Linked DNA regions of Homo sapiens: region 1 is linked to region 2. Evidence: promoter capture Hi-C in 16 types of primary human blood cells and fetal thymus (Javierre and others, 2016). All regions are on one chromosome and are shown on one strand. The core of a region is centred on a gene start or on the middle of the fragment in contact, and the rest is flanking DNA. Distances in the headings are between cores, read along the strand shown.

Region 1 (7,614 bases), core at 2,640-5,139, 780 kb after region 2:
ATTTAATGTTCTACCTATAACTAGCGTAGTTAAAAAAGAGCATGGGTTTGATATCTGAATGACTTAAGTTTGAACACCAGCCAGGGTTATAGTAAGTGGTAGACCTCTGCCAAGTCTGAGCTGAAAATCCCTCAAATGTAAATTAGGAATAACACTACTCACTTCACAGAATTAAGATTATTGTGGCCAGGTGAGGTGGTTCAAGTCTGTAACCACAGTACTTTGGGAGGACAAGGCAGGAGGATCCCCTGAGCCGAGGAGTTCGAGATCAAATGATCAGCAAGACCCTGACTCTACAAAAAAAATTTTTTTTCATTTGGCCAAGTATGGTGGTGTGTGCCTACAGTCCCAGCTACTCGGAAGCTGAGATGGCAGGATAGCTTGAGTCCAGGAGGTGGAAGCTGCAGTGGGCCATGCTTACACCCTTGTACTCCAGCCAGGGCAACAAAGCAAGACCCTGTCTCCAAAAAAAAAAAAAAAAATACTCTGATTGTATCTGTATTGATCCTAATATGATGCCTAACACACTGTGGTTGGTTGCTCAATATACGGTGGGTGGTTATTTTGATTGCCTTCTCATTTCCACAAAGCAAACACCCTTGTTTTTTAGGAATAAATTACATGTTCAAACACGATTACCAAAACCTCTTTCAGCCAAGAAGTACAATGAAAGGAATTCCTGAATATCATTTATAGATCCTGAAGTTGCGTCCCTAAAATTAATATAAGCAGATCAAATCCAAAGAGTTTAAAGGTCATCCCTCCTTCATCCTGTCCCTTATTACCTGCTAATATGTACAGTTACGTGACTTAAAACCCCAACAACTAGAACTCTTGAGGAAGGAGGTACCTATTTCCTAATAGCATCTCTATGAGAAGCATTTGCTCTAAGAGCCAGGCTGTCTGCTGTCCCTTCTCTAAGGACAGGTGAAAGCAGGAAGACAAAAGAGAAAAGAGGTCTCAGCTTAACTTGGAAAGCTAAATTAACTAAGGAAAGCAGATCAAGAAAGATTTGGGACATCATCTTCTTCAAGAATCCAATTTAAGCTTATGTCCCAACTATATACTTTGGTCAGTCTTCACAGCCCTATTGTCTCAAACTAATTTCTTTCCTGCTCTGGAGCTCAGGACTTTATGTTCAGATGTGACAATTTCTTAAAGTTGTGCCCTGACAACTTTCTTAAAAATTTTATCAATGAAAATCTAGTGAAAGACCAACGCTGAAATTTCATCAGATCCCCCTTTTCCTTCCAGTTTAATATTATTCAACTGTTCCTTTTTAAGACTACAAGAAATTAAGACTTGTGCCTTCATCCAGCAATGAAGTGGCAATAGGTAAATTAGACTCCACATTGTATTTTTCCCCACAAAATGTTCACGTTTATAACTTTCTCACTGCCTATGTTCAGTCTTTCGGGCAGCCTGAGAATCACATGTAATGACTGTCAAAGTAGATGATCTGACACACACATACAGAAAAACCACTAGTTAGAGTCAGCGTGTGTGTACAAACATGCAACTGTGATGCTCTCCCAGGTCAATCTCTCAAAACCCACAAAATCAGAGACTGATGGTGGAGGAGGGTGGCCTGGGAGCAGCCACAAAGAAAAGATCAAGATCTGAGAAGTAAAATGAAAAAGAGCTGCAAGAGAGTTGGTTAAGGACGAAAGAGTCTACTGTTTATCATGAGGGAGGAAAGAGGGAATAGACTAGGTAAGAAGTGAAGAAATCTGTGGAGGAAAAACCGCAATAGTAAAGAGAAAACAAAAAGATCTCACCAAATTGGGAGGATAAAACGAGCCCTCCTGCGCCAATTCCGTGTTGTTGTTTTGTTTTGTTTTGTTTTCCAGGAAGTTACAAAACAGTTTTCAACAGAAGGATTACATTAACAAAGCAAATAAAGGAAACTGGTGCTAAAAATGTAGCCTACCTACACTGAGAGGCCTGAAGACGGAAATACTTCTTTCCCCTTTTTGTAACGGGTTTCAAAACAGTAGGAACAGGGTGAGGGATAAGAGCTATAACAGGGGGAGGGGAGTAGCCAAGCTCTTCCTGAATACAGAGTCTTTCGACTAAATGCTTATTTTAAATGTACCTTTTTGCGGTCAGCCGGCAAATTCCTAACTGAACACAGCGTTTGACTCTCAATCGAAATGTGATGAGTGGTTCAGACACCATAGGAAATTTAACAGCTTATGCAAACACAAGGCAGATGCAGAACCAGGACTTGCTTTGGGTGGTACTCTAACACCCCTTCACTGGGTGGCTAAAACGCCACTAAGGTTTGAATTGTGACCAATAGTGGAATGGAAAAAAGAAAATAGGAAAGTTAAAGCGCCTACGTTGAGTCAAAAAACCATGCAATTAGCCGGAGAAGTTTGTGAACGGGCAGTAAGTGGAAAACAGTGGATACAAAGGGGCTAACTAGATAAACAGCTACTACAAATTCTGTCCGTCTTCCTTACGGGGAGCTACACAAGAAAGAGCGAGTCCCTTCTATATAGAGGAATGCTGCTTCTCAGCCTAGGCAGTTTCAGTCGCAGGCAGGGGCTGCCCGCCGAGAAGGGCCTGTCCAGCACAAACCCGCAGCACACACTTACTTTCGTCCGGCCATTGATTTTGTAGCTGCCCAGCTTCCCGTTACAGTGGCGTATCAGGTCGTCCATGCTGCTCATGAGCAGCCCAATGGTTTCGCAGCCGGGCTCCTTGCCCTCGATCCAGGTGATCTTATCGCCTCGGATGTCCTTGGACGAGTCACTCTTCTGGCTGACCAGCTGCCCGTCCGTGAACTTCCCGGTGTCGTGCAGGGCGCGCACCTCGTCGCCGATCTGCTGTCCGGTCTCCTTGCCGAGGAAGTCGTCCACCACACAGATGCCGTGCTTGTTCATGCACGGCACGATGTACTCGAGCGCCAGCTTCAGCGCCGGCAGGGGCTTCGTCTGCCCGTTGGGCCGCAGGCCGCCGCCGGGGCTCAGCGCATCCCCGGGCGTGTTGCTTGGGGGGTACAGGTTCGCCTTCTCCTGGAACAGCGATGAGCGGGCCGGCGGCTCCTCCTTGCCGGGCTCGGCTTCGGCAGCCACCGCCGAGCCCTGGCCGCCGGCGGCCGCACGACACGGCGACGCGGCCGCCGCTGGGTCGGCCGGGGGCTTGGCCTTTACTTTTCCCTTGGCCGCGTCCCCGGAGGCGTTGTCCCGGCGCGCCGCTGCCTTCCTGGGCTCCCGGGCCCCGGCCCTGGGCGGCGGCACTGCAGCCGGCGGCGCGGGGCCGGAATGCTGGTGTGGGCCCACTCCGTGGCCGAGGGCGCCCTCGCTGCCCTGGCACACGAGCTTGTGCTTCTTCCAGTCCTGACGCTGGTGCTCCTTGCAGCAGTAGAAGGAGCTGCGGCAGCGGCTGCAGCGCAGCAGGTTCTCCATCTTCCCGCACAGCTCGCAGTACTGCCGGTCTCGCTCGCTCGGGCTCGGCCCGCCGGGCCCGCCGCTGTCATTGGCCATGGCGGCGGCGGCGGCGGCGACGGCGACTGCGGCGGCCGAGCAGGAGGGGTAGCGGCCGGACGGCCTCGCCCGAGGCTGGGGAGCGGGGAGAGAGATAGGGGCCGTTACTGCGCCATGCACCCGCTACCCTCGCCTCAGGGAGGCCGGCACCCCACGCCCTCGGCCCGGCCGCTTCCGAGTCCTAAGCTCCGGCGCAGCGCCGGCAGCCGCCTCAGCGCCTCATCGCCGCCGAGGGCTGAGAGAATAGGGCCTGTGCGGCGAATGGCAACCTGGGCTCAGGCGCGCGGGCCTGGGGAGCGCAAGACCGGCCCCCTCGGCCGCCGCCGCCGCCTCAGCGTCCCGGGCGGCCCGGCCCAGGCTGTGGAGGAGCGCAGGGCATACGGGCGCCACTCGCTCTGCGCGCTCTGCACGTACACCACGGCCCCGCGGCGACCCGGGCGGGCGGCGCGCGAGGGCGGAGGGGGCGGAGGGAGGGCCGGGAGGGCCGGGGGGAGGGCCGAGGGGCGGGGGCTGCCTGCGCTCCTCCGCACTCGGCGGGGCCGGGCCTCGGCTTCTGCCTCGGAGGTGGGTCGCCCGCTTTCCCTCCGCCCGGGACCGGACTGGGACGCCGAGAGGCCGGTGCGCTACCTCAGCCCGCAGCGGCCTCCTCGGGGACGCCGAGGCGCAGGCCCGCGAGCGGCGGAAAGGCGTGGGGCAGCGCGGCAGCGCCTACACCTGCTGGAGGAGGGCGCCAGCCGCAAGCGGGTAGCGGAGCGAAGGCGGCGTAATCATGGCTGCTCTTCCTCCAGGCCGGCGCGGGGTGTGCGAGGCTCGCTCCAGTCAAGGTTGCAAGGTGGCTATTGCGATCCTCATTTTGCAGAGGAGGAAACGGAAATTCAGAGAAGTAAAGTAACTTGCCCAAGGTCACGCAAAACTGGGACTGAATCCAGGAATCAGGCTCCCAGATTCCAAGGCTGTTTTTTCCATTACACCATACAGCCTCTATTTCAAGAAGCCCTGAAATGGTTAAGAACAAAATAAGTATTACTATGGTGTTAATCCAATCTCTTGCGCCCCGTTTCGACCTAGTTTAAAGGTAATGAAATTTGAGGGTTTTAAAAAAAATCAAAAACTCATTTTTAAAACCTTTGAAATCCCGCCGAGTTCAAAACCCCATGAAGAAATTTTGGGCTACCAAGTTAAATGTAATCAATGCTCATTCCAATATCCAATTTAAACTGATGGGATTATTCCTGAAAAGTGAATTTTGATGGTAAATGAGCAGTACTACATTAACGACTCTCACATTTATTTTTAATAGAATCTGTGCTGCGCGGATGAATACAATTCTTTGTTTTACAGAGCATAAAAACCTTACCAGAAATAAGCCAAAGATGTTTCTTTCTGCTGCTATTTGTCTTAAGAATTAAAAGGTCTGTGATTTCGAGTTTATCAATCTTTATCGAACACTATGTGGAAAGTGGGGTGCTAGGCTTGTGTATCACTTGAGTATACTGTAACTTCAGTCCTTGAAATATAGCCTTCCAAACTTAAAAAGTTGTAATATGTATTTCAAAAGCAGGATATAAGGAATTATTGTAAACCATATTGTAGAAGTTTAAAAAGAGGCTTGAATCCAAAAATATAAAACCTCTTCATCAAATATACAGAATTTAAAACTGTTATAAAATCCTGCTGCATGCGTAAATGGCATTCTGGGGATCCAATCAAGTGAAAGAGGATGATAATTCCAATTAGCTTGTCCTTTGGGAAACTGAGATAAATATACTCACATCTTCAAATTTCAAACCGAACTAAAAATCCAAGTTTCTGTAAAGAATTTAGACCTAGACCTGTCTTATGTGTATCCTACTTTCCCAGAGCTTTATTAAATACAGTAAAATGTCATTGTTGCAGACATTACTAATTAGGCTGTTCAACAAATGCATTGAGAGTCCTTGACAAACAAATGAATTAGTCATACTACACTCAGAGACACATAGTCCAATGCAGGAGGCAGGTATGTAAACAAGGACAATCCAGAGTTCAGAGTTTCCTAAAAGAGGGATGAATAGGATGGAATGGGAACACAGAAAAAGGAATTGCTAGCTCTGCCATTTGCACTAATAAAATCCAAGCAAATTAATTCAGAAATTCTTAAAATATAAAGGAGCTATCTCATGGCTTACGAAAATAAGCATTTAAAACATTTTTCATACACATAAATTATGTAAAATGTAATTTAAATACAAGTAGAGTCTAATACTTCTTAGGCTTCCTTTTGCTATAGTAATTATACATGAGGCTTAATTATTCACAAGAGCAGGAACTTTACTAGGAGGACTCATTCCACAAACACTTGATTCTTCCAACAATTTCTTTTAAATTTGCTATTTCAGTCTGTGGTGTGTCCACAAATTATTTACATCTCTATATGCTCTACTCATATATTTTCATTGAAGTTTACTTAAAAGAATAGATGTCCATATCAAAACCTTTATTAGCTTTCTTGTTCCAATTAAGTATACAAAATCACAAATTGAACATGTATATCCTAAATATACTTAATCCATCAAATAGAACACTTGCAACACTTTAATGAATACAACAGGAAAATATAAAATACTGATTTCAAATAGTTCCAAAGATCCTTGATTTCAGGATTTTCACCTATTCAGGCTTAATAATCTGAACTAATTCCAAATTAGTGAGTTTTCACCACACCATATGCTGGTGAACAATCTTGTCACCAACACGATTCTGGAACTCCAGTAGCATTGTCGCAGCCGCCACTTACTCAGATGTTATAGAGAGACTTCAAAATGTCATGCAAGTATTTATTTATTTATTTACTTATTTAAACTTTAACGGAAGGCAACACAAAGGAATTTATCTTATAAACACATGTGGTGCTTGCTGTTATGTGCCCAATCTGTGTTCTAAGCATTTTAAAAATATTAACCAATTTAATCATCATACAATGCTATGAAGTGGGTACTATTATTCTACCAATTTTACAGAAGGTGAAACAAATAGAGAGTGAGGCAATGAATGTCCCTCCCAATCCTTAATATTGTATGATTAGGAGCACTAGGTGGGTTAACTAATACTCTGGGGCAAACAAAGCCTTGTGTCTCTCAAAGCCATTAATTATTACAAATGTTTTTCTGCCCCTAACCTAATCAAAAGCAACTGTTCTAGAAACTGAAGAATGAATTAAAGTAACAGTGCTTTCCTCTCCATATCATACCAACTTAGACAAAGCTAATTGACCACCTATTTGGCTTCCCTTTGCTCTTCTGGCAGTATTTAGTTAAGCTATAAAGAAGTAGCCACTGTGAACTGACAAGAACTAAAAGAGGCAAAGCTTATGTTAACTACAAGAACAGAATTGAAGGAGGAAATGAATTTAGAAACGACTGTGTTGACTCTTGAGGAAAGCCCACTGAACAACAATCTGCCTTCCAAGGAGTAGCCCTATTTCTCCTTTAAAAATGTTTTTAAAAACACAACAGAGTATCTTTTCTGCTCAAGAAATCGAACATCTGATTGTTAACTAATGACCTCTTGTTTCCCCATCTGTGACAATCTTGTTTTAATAGGTTACAGAGAACAGAAAAATCACAAGTATAGCATAGGCATTCCACCAAGATAAACAGGAAGACAATCTTTGAGTTCTGGGAAAAGCAACTCAAAAATCTGAGCCATTTTCTAACTATAGTATTAGGACACACACAAGTAGGTGTCATTGGAAAACAGCACCTGCTTGTCTCTGTACTGGGGGTTCTGCCAGATGCACACGTGAGCTATGTGCTTCTCCTTGTACATGGAGACAGCTGTACTTTCCACCAAGGTTGTTCCCTTATGAAAACAAAATAATTGAATAGATTTGCTATATATTGGGGCGATTTATCAGTCATCAAACTTTATCAGTTTATGATTGAAAAATTACCACCAATCCTGTTAAAATTGATCATCTCAGAAATATAACAAAAATTTATAATCATCTCTCATTATAGCGAATTTTTTAAATAAATGCTCAAAAACCTGGGATACTAAATAACGTGTCGATCTAATTTTTTTTCCTAACAAACATTACCTTAATGTTGAACCAACTTTTGGGATAGTCACAATCAGTGACTTA
Region 2 (7,286 bases), core at 1,461-3,960:
GTACTTTCCTAGGGACTCGGGTCGGAAAGAAAAAGAACTTAATCTGAAGTTTTGCTTAACATTCAGCTAAAGCTTCCAGAATGGGATATTTAGAAGCTTAGAACATTCTTACCGACTATTGCAGTACGACAAAGCAAACCATTACTCTTTAAAGAAGTTGCTCTACTTTTTACGTGATGCATTTGAAGAAGTTGGTAGTTGTAGGTCATAAACTTAGAGAAAAGAAATATAAACTGAAAACACTTCACTGATGATAAAGTTCATCAGGCACAGCCTTGAAAATGGCCAGGCTTTGAGTGAGAGCTGGGAGGAGCTTTGCTCCTACTTGGTGTATCCCTCTGGGTCTGCACTTAAGCCATTCAAAAAATGTTTCTATTTAATTTCCTGAGGACTAGGATTTTTGACACCTTTTAGTAGCTGCTTTCAGTGTTAAAAAGCGAAAAGTTTTAGCTGGTTAGTAGACATCTACAATTTTGAGCAAGTGAGTTGAAATCTTACTCTGCCTTTCTTGGTGACATAATGTTTTCTAGATTAATTAGCCTATCTCTTTTTGATAATATTTGCATTCAGATTACATCTCCAAAGCTGTTTTTTTTTAAAGTAGATCTGTATCTTCTCCAGTGTGACCATATCATTTTTCGTATGTAGGACTTATCTATACCCAGGAATAATGTACCTTATTCTTGTAAGTGATATTCCTATTAGACCACTGTACTAAAAGGTGTAACTTCATTAGGATGTCTCAAAGAATGTACAGAATCAACTCATTGATCCAGAAACCCTTCGTTTTGCCTACTGGCTAAGAGCTACCCTGAAATGAGGGTAGAAAGAAACAGCTAAGGGTACATGCTGGGGAGAGGTGCCCTGGAAGAGGAAAGGCCATACACGGAGATCAGGGGCCTTGTTGACGTCAAGAATCTCAGAGTACAGAATAATCTCAGTTTGTCCATCTCTTGACTTCTTAAGGCTCAACACCAGCATCTTCTCTGACTCACTAGCCCCACCACCTTTCCCACTCTGAGTTGACAGAATGCCTTTGGTAAATGCAGCTTCAGGAAGTGAAATCACAGAAATACAAGTTCTAAAATAGAACTTAGAGTGCAAACTGGGGTGGTGGCTGGAATGCCAGCAATTGCATATTTCGTGGCTCTGTGAATATGCGGTACATTTTGTAGTGCTTATAAAAGTGACAACATACATAGAAGAAAATACATAGAACAGCTGTTCTGTGTAAAATTTTGTTGATTTTTTAGGTGGAGCTTGAAGATAAAGGTTATTTGCAATTTGTGTTGCCTTAAACATATAAAACTACATATAAGTTGCACTTCCATGGCAGAAAGGATGGTTGGAACACTTGTCCAGGCTATATTTCTATGTTTGTGTCTCATTCAGCACATTTTGTAATTGGATAGGTTTTGTACGTGTGAGAAAGTTGGGATATGACATTTGCATTGGGAGATTTGAGATTGCTTGAAAATCCAGATTTAAAGTTGCTTGAAATCCACTCTCTTCTGTTATTACCTCTCTTCTGGTATTACGTCTCTTCTGGTGTTGATGGGAAACTGTGTTTAGGTTGCCATAGATCATGAGGGCATGCTAGTGCAGTGGTAGCAATTGTTCAGTCAGTGGGCATTCCATGATCACCTGCTGTGTGCAGGTTTCAATGGGCCTTGTATACTGTACTGACGGATTTGCACTTGATTTAGTATTCATTGTGGAGTTACAGTCAGGTTAAAAGCAGGAAATGACATGATCATGTATGTTGCAGTTGGAACTGACTGGTGGCGGGAGGCTACTTAAAAAGTTATTTCAGTGGTTTTTATGAGATCTGAGAAATACAGGAGGGGATAGTTTGTGGAAAATATTACGTAAATGATCAAAAAGCAGGAGTGGCAGATGAACGAATCACTTGAGGGGTCAAAGGTGGTAATGGCATGATACTGTTGACTTCGTCAGCTTAATAAAATATACACACTGAGCAACATAGTGAGAATGCATTTCTACAAAATATTGAAAAATTAGCCAGGTGTGGTGGCACATACCTGTAGTCCCAGCTACTTGGGAGGCTGAGGTGGGAGGATTACCTGAGCCTGTGGAGGTCAAGGCTGCAGTGAGCCAGGATTGCAGCACTGCACTTCAGCCTGGGCAACAGAAAGAGACCCTGTCAAAAAAAAAAAAAAAAAAAAAAAGAAAATGTACAAACACTCTTAGAGAGGGTTGACAATCAGTAGATGAATTAGGATGTAAGATACTGGTAGTAGGAGAGAGGTGGTAGGCTAACAGGGATAACTTAAACCCACTTAACCTAGGTATGCTGTGGCAATCATATCCTTCTGTCTCACGTATGACTTCATGTGTTTTACAGAAAAAATAGAGGCCATCAAGCGGTAGCTCCTTCATCTTGCTGACAGCAACCTCGTTCTTGCATTTGTACCTGTTCTCACTCCCATCATTAACCTGTTGTGTAGGGCAATGGTCCCCAACCTTTTTGACACTTTTGGAAGACAATTTTTCCATGGACCAGGAGTGCAGGGGATGGTTTTGGGGTGATTCAAGCGCATTACATTTATTGTACACTTTATTTCTATAATTATTACATTGTAATACATAATGAAATAGTTATAAAATTCACCGTAATGTAGAATCAGTGGGAGCTCTGACCTTGTTTTCTTGCAACTAGACAGTCCTGTCTGGGGGGTGATGGGAGACACTGACAGATCATTCAGCATTAGGTTTTCATAAGGAGTGCCTAACCTAGATCCCTCGCATGTGCAGTTCACAGTAGGGTCCATGCTCCTATGAGAATCTAGTGCTGCCACTGATCTGACAGGAGGCGGAGCTCCAATACAGAGTGGCTGTGAATACAGGCTGCGCTCCTCCTGCTGGGCCACCCGGTTCCCCACAGGTAGTTGGGGACGCTGGTGTAGGGGTCTTTCCTTCCTCCTGAGGTCTGCCTCCCATGCCTGGATCCGGTGCCCTCTCCCTTCTCAGGACCCTGTTATTCCCACCCTCTCCACACTTCTTCCCATTGGCTTTCAGACACACTCCTATTTTAGTTTCTTCTACTGGACCCTCCAACCTCCAGTTAAAGCCCATCGCTCTCTTCCATCTCACAGCCAAATGCTCACAGCCAAATGTTGTCTTTACTTTCTCTCCCTTCACTCTTAAATTCACTTCACTCTGGTTTCTGGCCCCATCATTCCACTAAAGACTTCTCACCAAAGTTAACTAGATGGAAGTCGATCCACCAGACCTTCTCTGCTTCCTTCCCTGACCTCAGTAGATCAAATGCTCCCTTCATTTGCTTTCTGAAACCTGGTGCTTTCTGGTTATCTTTTGGCCTCTCTGGTCTCCTTGTCTCTTTTGCATAATCATTCTCCTCCTAGCCATTAATTGGTGGGTTATGGACTCAGCCACGTGTCTGTTCCTTTTCACATGCTGTGCACTTTCCGCAGGTGACCCACTTCATGCAGCTTCAATGACCACGTGTAGACAGGTGAAAGGTTCATACTTCTGGCCCAAATACCTTCTTATCTGCAACCCCATGTGCACAGCGCCTTGACATCTCTTCTTGGCTATCTCTGTGGCACCTCAAACTCGGCATATTTAAAACTGAATTTGTTGGGGGAAGATGAAAAAAACCAACCTTCTCTCAAACTTGGCTCTCTTCTGGTATTACCTATCTCAGGTAATACTAGACCTGAGGTAATCCATCCATCTGGTTGTGAGTCAGATGTTATCAAGGAGTCATCCTTGATAACACCTCTCTCCTTCACATTCTTGAAATCCAACCTGTTACTAAGCCTTAGGATTTCACTTCCCAAATATCTCTGAAATTTGTCTACTTCTCTCCATCTCCTCTTTTCCCACTTTCTGACTCATCATTATCTCTGGCCATTATAATCTAGTGGCTTCTTACTGTAGTCCCCTGGCATCCATTCTTGCCTTTTTCTAGTCCGTGTTCTACATCACAGGCAGGGTGCCCTTTTCAAAACGCATCTCGGTGCTTGTATGTAACAGGTGCTTGTATGTAATCAGACTGCCACCTGTATACACCATGAAAACATGAGAAAGCATTTTCCAGAACACTTGGAAGTATTCCAGAGCAGCTTATTGCACTGATGGACAGTTTCTATTGATTAGTAGCTATCTTGGTTATCTGATTGAAAAAACATAGCGTATATAGAGTTGGGTACTATCTGTGGTTTCAGGCATTGACTGGGGGTCTTGGAATATATCTCCCTCAGATAAGGGGACCCCTTACTGTAGTTCTGAGGCTCATCTGTATTCTAAGTGTGTAAATAGGGAATATTGAAACAGGAGGTGTGTCCAAGAGAATAATGCCTGGCTGATTGAATAGCAGTGACCTGGAGATGTGGGCCCCAGTTTCAGCTCTGCTGAGCACTCGTGTGATTTTGTGCAAATCGCTGGCCTCTGCGGGCTTCAGTTTCCTCATTTATGTCATGGGGTGATGCTTATCTCAATACTCTTTGCAGTGTTTCTGGCTCTTGTCGTTTTATGTTTCTGTGAATAAAGAAACTTACAGTTGCCCCTCAGTATCCGCAGAGGATTGATTCCAGGACACCTCCCACCCCTTCACAGATAGCAAAATCTGCAAATGCTCAAGACCCTCTTGTAAATGGTGTAGTATTTGCATATAACCTACTTACATCCTCTGGAATACTTTAAATCACCTCTAGATTACTTATACTACCTAATACAGTGAAATTGTTGTTATACTGTATTTTTATTTGCATTACTTTTTATTTTTTTAATTATTTTTTTAAAGACTCTTTTCAATTAATGACTGATTGAATTAGAGGGTGTGGAATGCTCGGATACAGAGGGACAACTGTAGTAGATTCTTCCAGTTTGCAGATAAAGAAACTGAGGTCCAGAGATGTTGTGACTTCCCCCAGAGTCACACAGCTAACTGGGGCAACCCAGGGCCATTATCTCATGACTCCCAGGCTTCAGTACTGGAAAAATAATCGTGTCATGCTTTCCTTTCTAGATGGTAGAAACTTTGGAATGTGTGATTTTGAATACTGAGAACAGCCCAAAAATGTCACATAGTCCCTATGCTAAAGCACATGCATTTTATCAGTAGGGACAAGATTGAGGGCCATCACTTAATTTAAAACAAATTGTAACCCATCTAGTGATCTGGACTCTTGGCCTGTAGATGAGATACAGGAAAGCGGATGTAAGTGTGAAGGCAACAGCCCAGTGTTGCTGAGTGCCGGGCACAGCATGTGCCATCATTTCACAGCAACTAAAATGCTGACCTTACAGGTTCATGGTTTCATTTTTGGTCTTCATGAAAAGCTTGAATTCTCTTTAGCTTCAGTTTGCAACACAAATAAAGAATATATTTGAGACTGATTGTCACAGAATTTTCTAATTACCCACATGTGGAGCGATTTCCTAATGTGAAATACTTTTCTTGATGGTATGAGATCAGTACCATTGGACATACACAGTTTATTCAGTTGGCCTTTGGTAAAAAGAAGTTCTTTGGTATGCAAAAATTTTCCAAGTCACTTCTTGCAATATTATAAAATGTATTACTTGAATAAAATGTTGAACTCATGGTCCCTTGAGTTTTTATTACTTGGGATATTTCTTTGTTCAAAGTTAGATAAGCATCATGTAAATAGATCTTTGTTGTTCAGTCATACAGCATTTAACATCAAATTTCTTTGAGGATTTAACTAACCAAATTAATCACAAAATGGGGCTTGGGCTTTCTCAGGTGTCCCTAATACACCCACAGCAGTAAGCACTTCAGAATGAGATCATTCTGCTTAAGAGCTCAAGAAATTAAGTTGAGAAAGTAAGCTAGAAGACCACATAGATTGTCATTAGTGTTAAACTGGGGTAAAAAGGAGAGAGAAAGAGAAGAAATCAGCTGGGACAGAGCACAAATATTTGTTAAATGGAAGTGACAGGTTATAGGTTTTCTTTGCCTTCTCGTAAATACATCAAACACAGATACGGTATTGAACAGAGGATTTAGACATAAAATTGATTAATCCATTTAAACATAATAAGTTATTTAGAACTTAAGTGCTACTGTTTCATAAAACTTCTAATATCATCTGTCCATAGATGCTGGAAAACACTTTAGCATACATTTTTAATTTCTCAGGCTTCAGTAATTTGGTAACCAAATAAAGGTTTAGAATGAGCCTTGGAAGACACGAGTTCCAGACTAACTGGGTCATGTGTCAATGGAGCCACCCTGCACTGGGGACAGCACTAGGTTTGAGGGCAGGGGCTGGAGGGAAGAGCTCCAGGGACGTTTTTGCCCATAGCTTGCTGTTGTGAGGAAGGGTTCCCTTCCCACAGTCTTTCCCATGGCTGTTGCCTTCATGACATTCAGATCTCAGCTCAGATACCACTTTGTAAGGGTCTTCTATCCCCTTTTCATCACTCGCTTTCATAGGGTTCCATTTTATTTTCTTTGTAGCACTTACCACTATTCATAATGTTTGTTTACATGTTTATTTTCTCATTTCCCCATTAGAATATATGCTCCTTGAGAACAGGAATGTTGTCTTTGCTTTTCATTGCTGTGCCCCCTGTAATTACAGCAGTGATTATTTATTTATTTATTGGGTATCTCATTGTGGTTTTTCTTTTGTTACTTATTTATTTTATTTTATTTTAGATTCAGGAGGTACATGTACAGGTTTATTATGTGGTTATAGTGTGTAATGGTGAGGTTTGTGCTTCTAGTGTGTTCATCACCCAGACAGTGAATGTTGTACCCAATAGATAATTTTTCAGCCCTCATCTTCCTCCAGCACTTCCCCTTTCAAGTCCCCAGTGTCTATTAATTCCATCTTTATGTCCACATATACCCATCATTTATGTCCCACTTAGAAGGGAGATGATGTGGTATTTGACTTTCTGTTTCGGAGTTAGTTCATTTAGGATAATGACCTCCAGCTCCATCCATGTTGCTGCAAAAGACATGATTTCATCTTTTTAAGGCTGCATAGTATTCTGTGGTATAAATGCACCACATTTTCTTTATCCAATCCTCCGTTGATAGACACGTTGATTCCATGACTTTGCTATTGTGAATAGGGCTTCAATAAACATAGGAGTGCAGGTGTCTTTTTTTATATAATGATTTCCTTTGGGTGGATGTTCCCTATTAGGATTACTAGGTCAAATGGTAGTTCTATTTTTAGTTCTTTGAGAAGTCGCCATACTGTTTTCCATAGAACCTGTACTAATTTACATTCTCACCAACAGTGTATAAGCATTCCTTTTTC

What was found. The method cuts DNA at HindIII sites, captures the fragments that hold promoters and counts their contacts. A CHiCAGO score of 5 or more calls a contact.
Region 1: the fragment with the promoter of EGLN1 here is called in contact with a fragment that was not itself captured in region 2 in 2 of 17 cell types (naive CD8 T cells and total B cells); the score reaches 5.6 in naive CD8 T cells.

What each region holds. Positions count from the first base shown.
Region 1 is chr1:231,418,398-231,426,011 of GRCh38, forward strand. It overlaps EGLN1 (egl-9 family hypoxia inducible factor 1), which reads right to left and starts at 3,890. Exons shown (of 5, transcript NM_022051.3): 1 at 2,601-3,890. The coding sequence starts at 3,491. RefSeq lists an enhancer at 2,446-2,715 and silencers at 3,096-4,275, 4,031-4,355. The HindIII fragment of the contact is 5,790 bases long and covers 1,046-6,835 here.
Region 2 is chr1:230,643,068-230,650,353 of GRCh38, forward strand. All of the region lies in intron 1 of COG2 (component of oligomeric golgi complex 2), which reads left to right. Among named protein-coding and RNA genes, the nearest start is that of COG2, 4.2 kb to the left of the region's middle. RefSeq lists a silencer at 961-1,080. The HindIII fragment of the contact is 5,232 bases long and covers 95-5,326 here.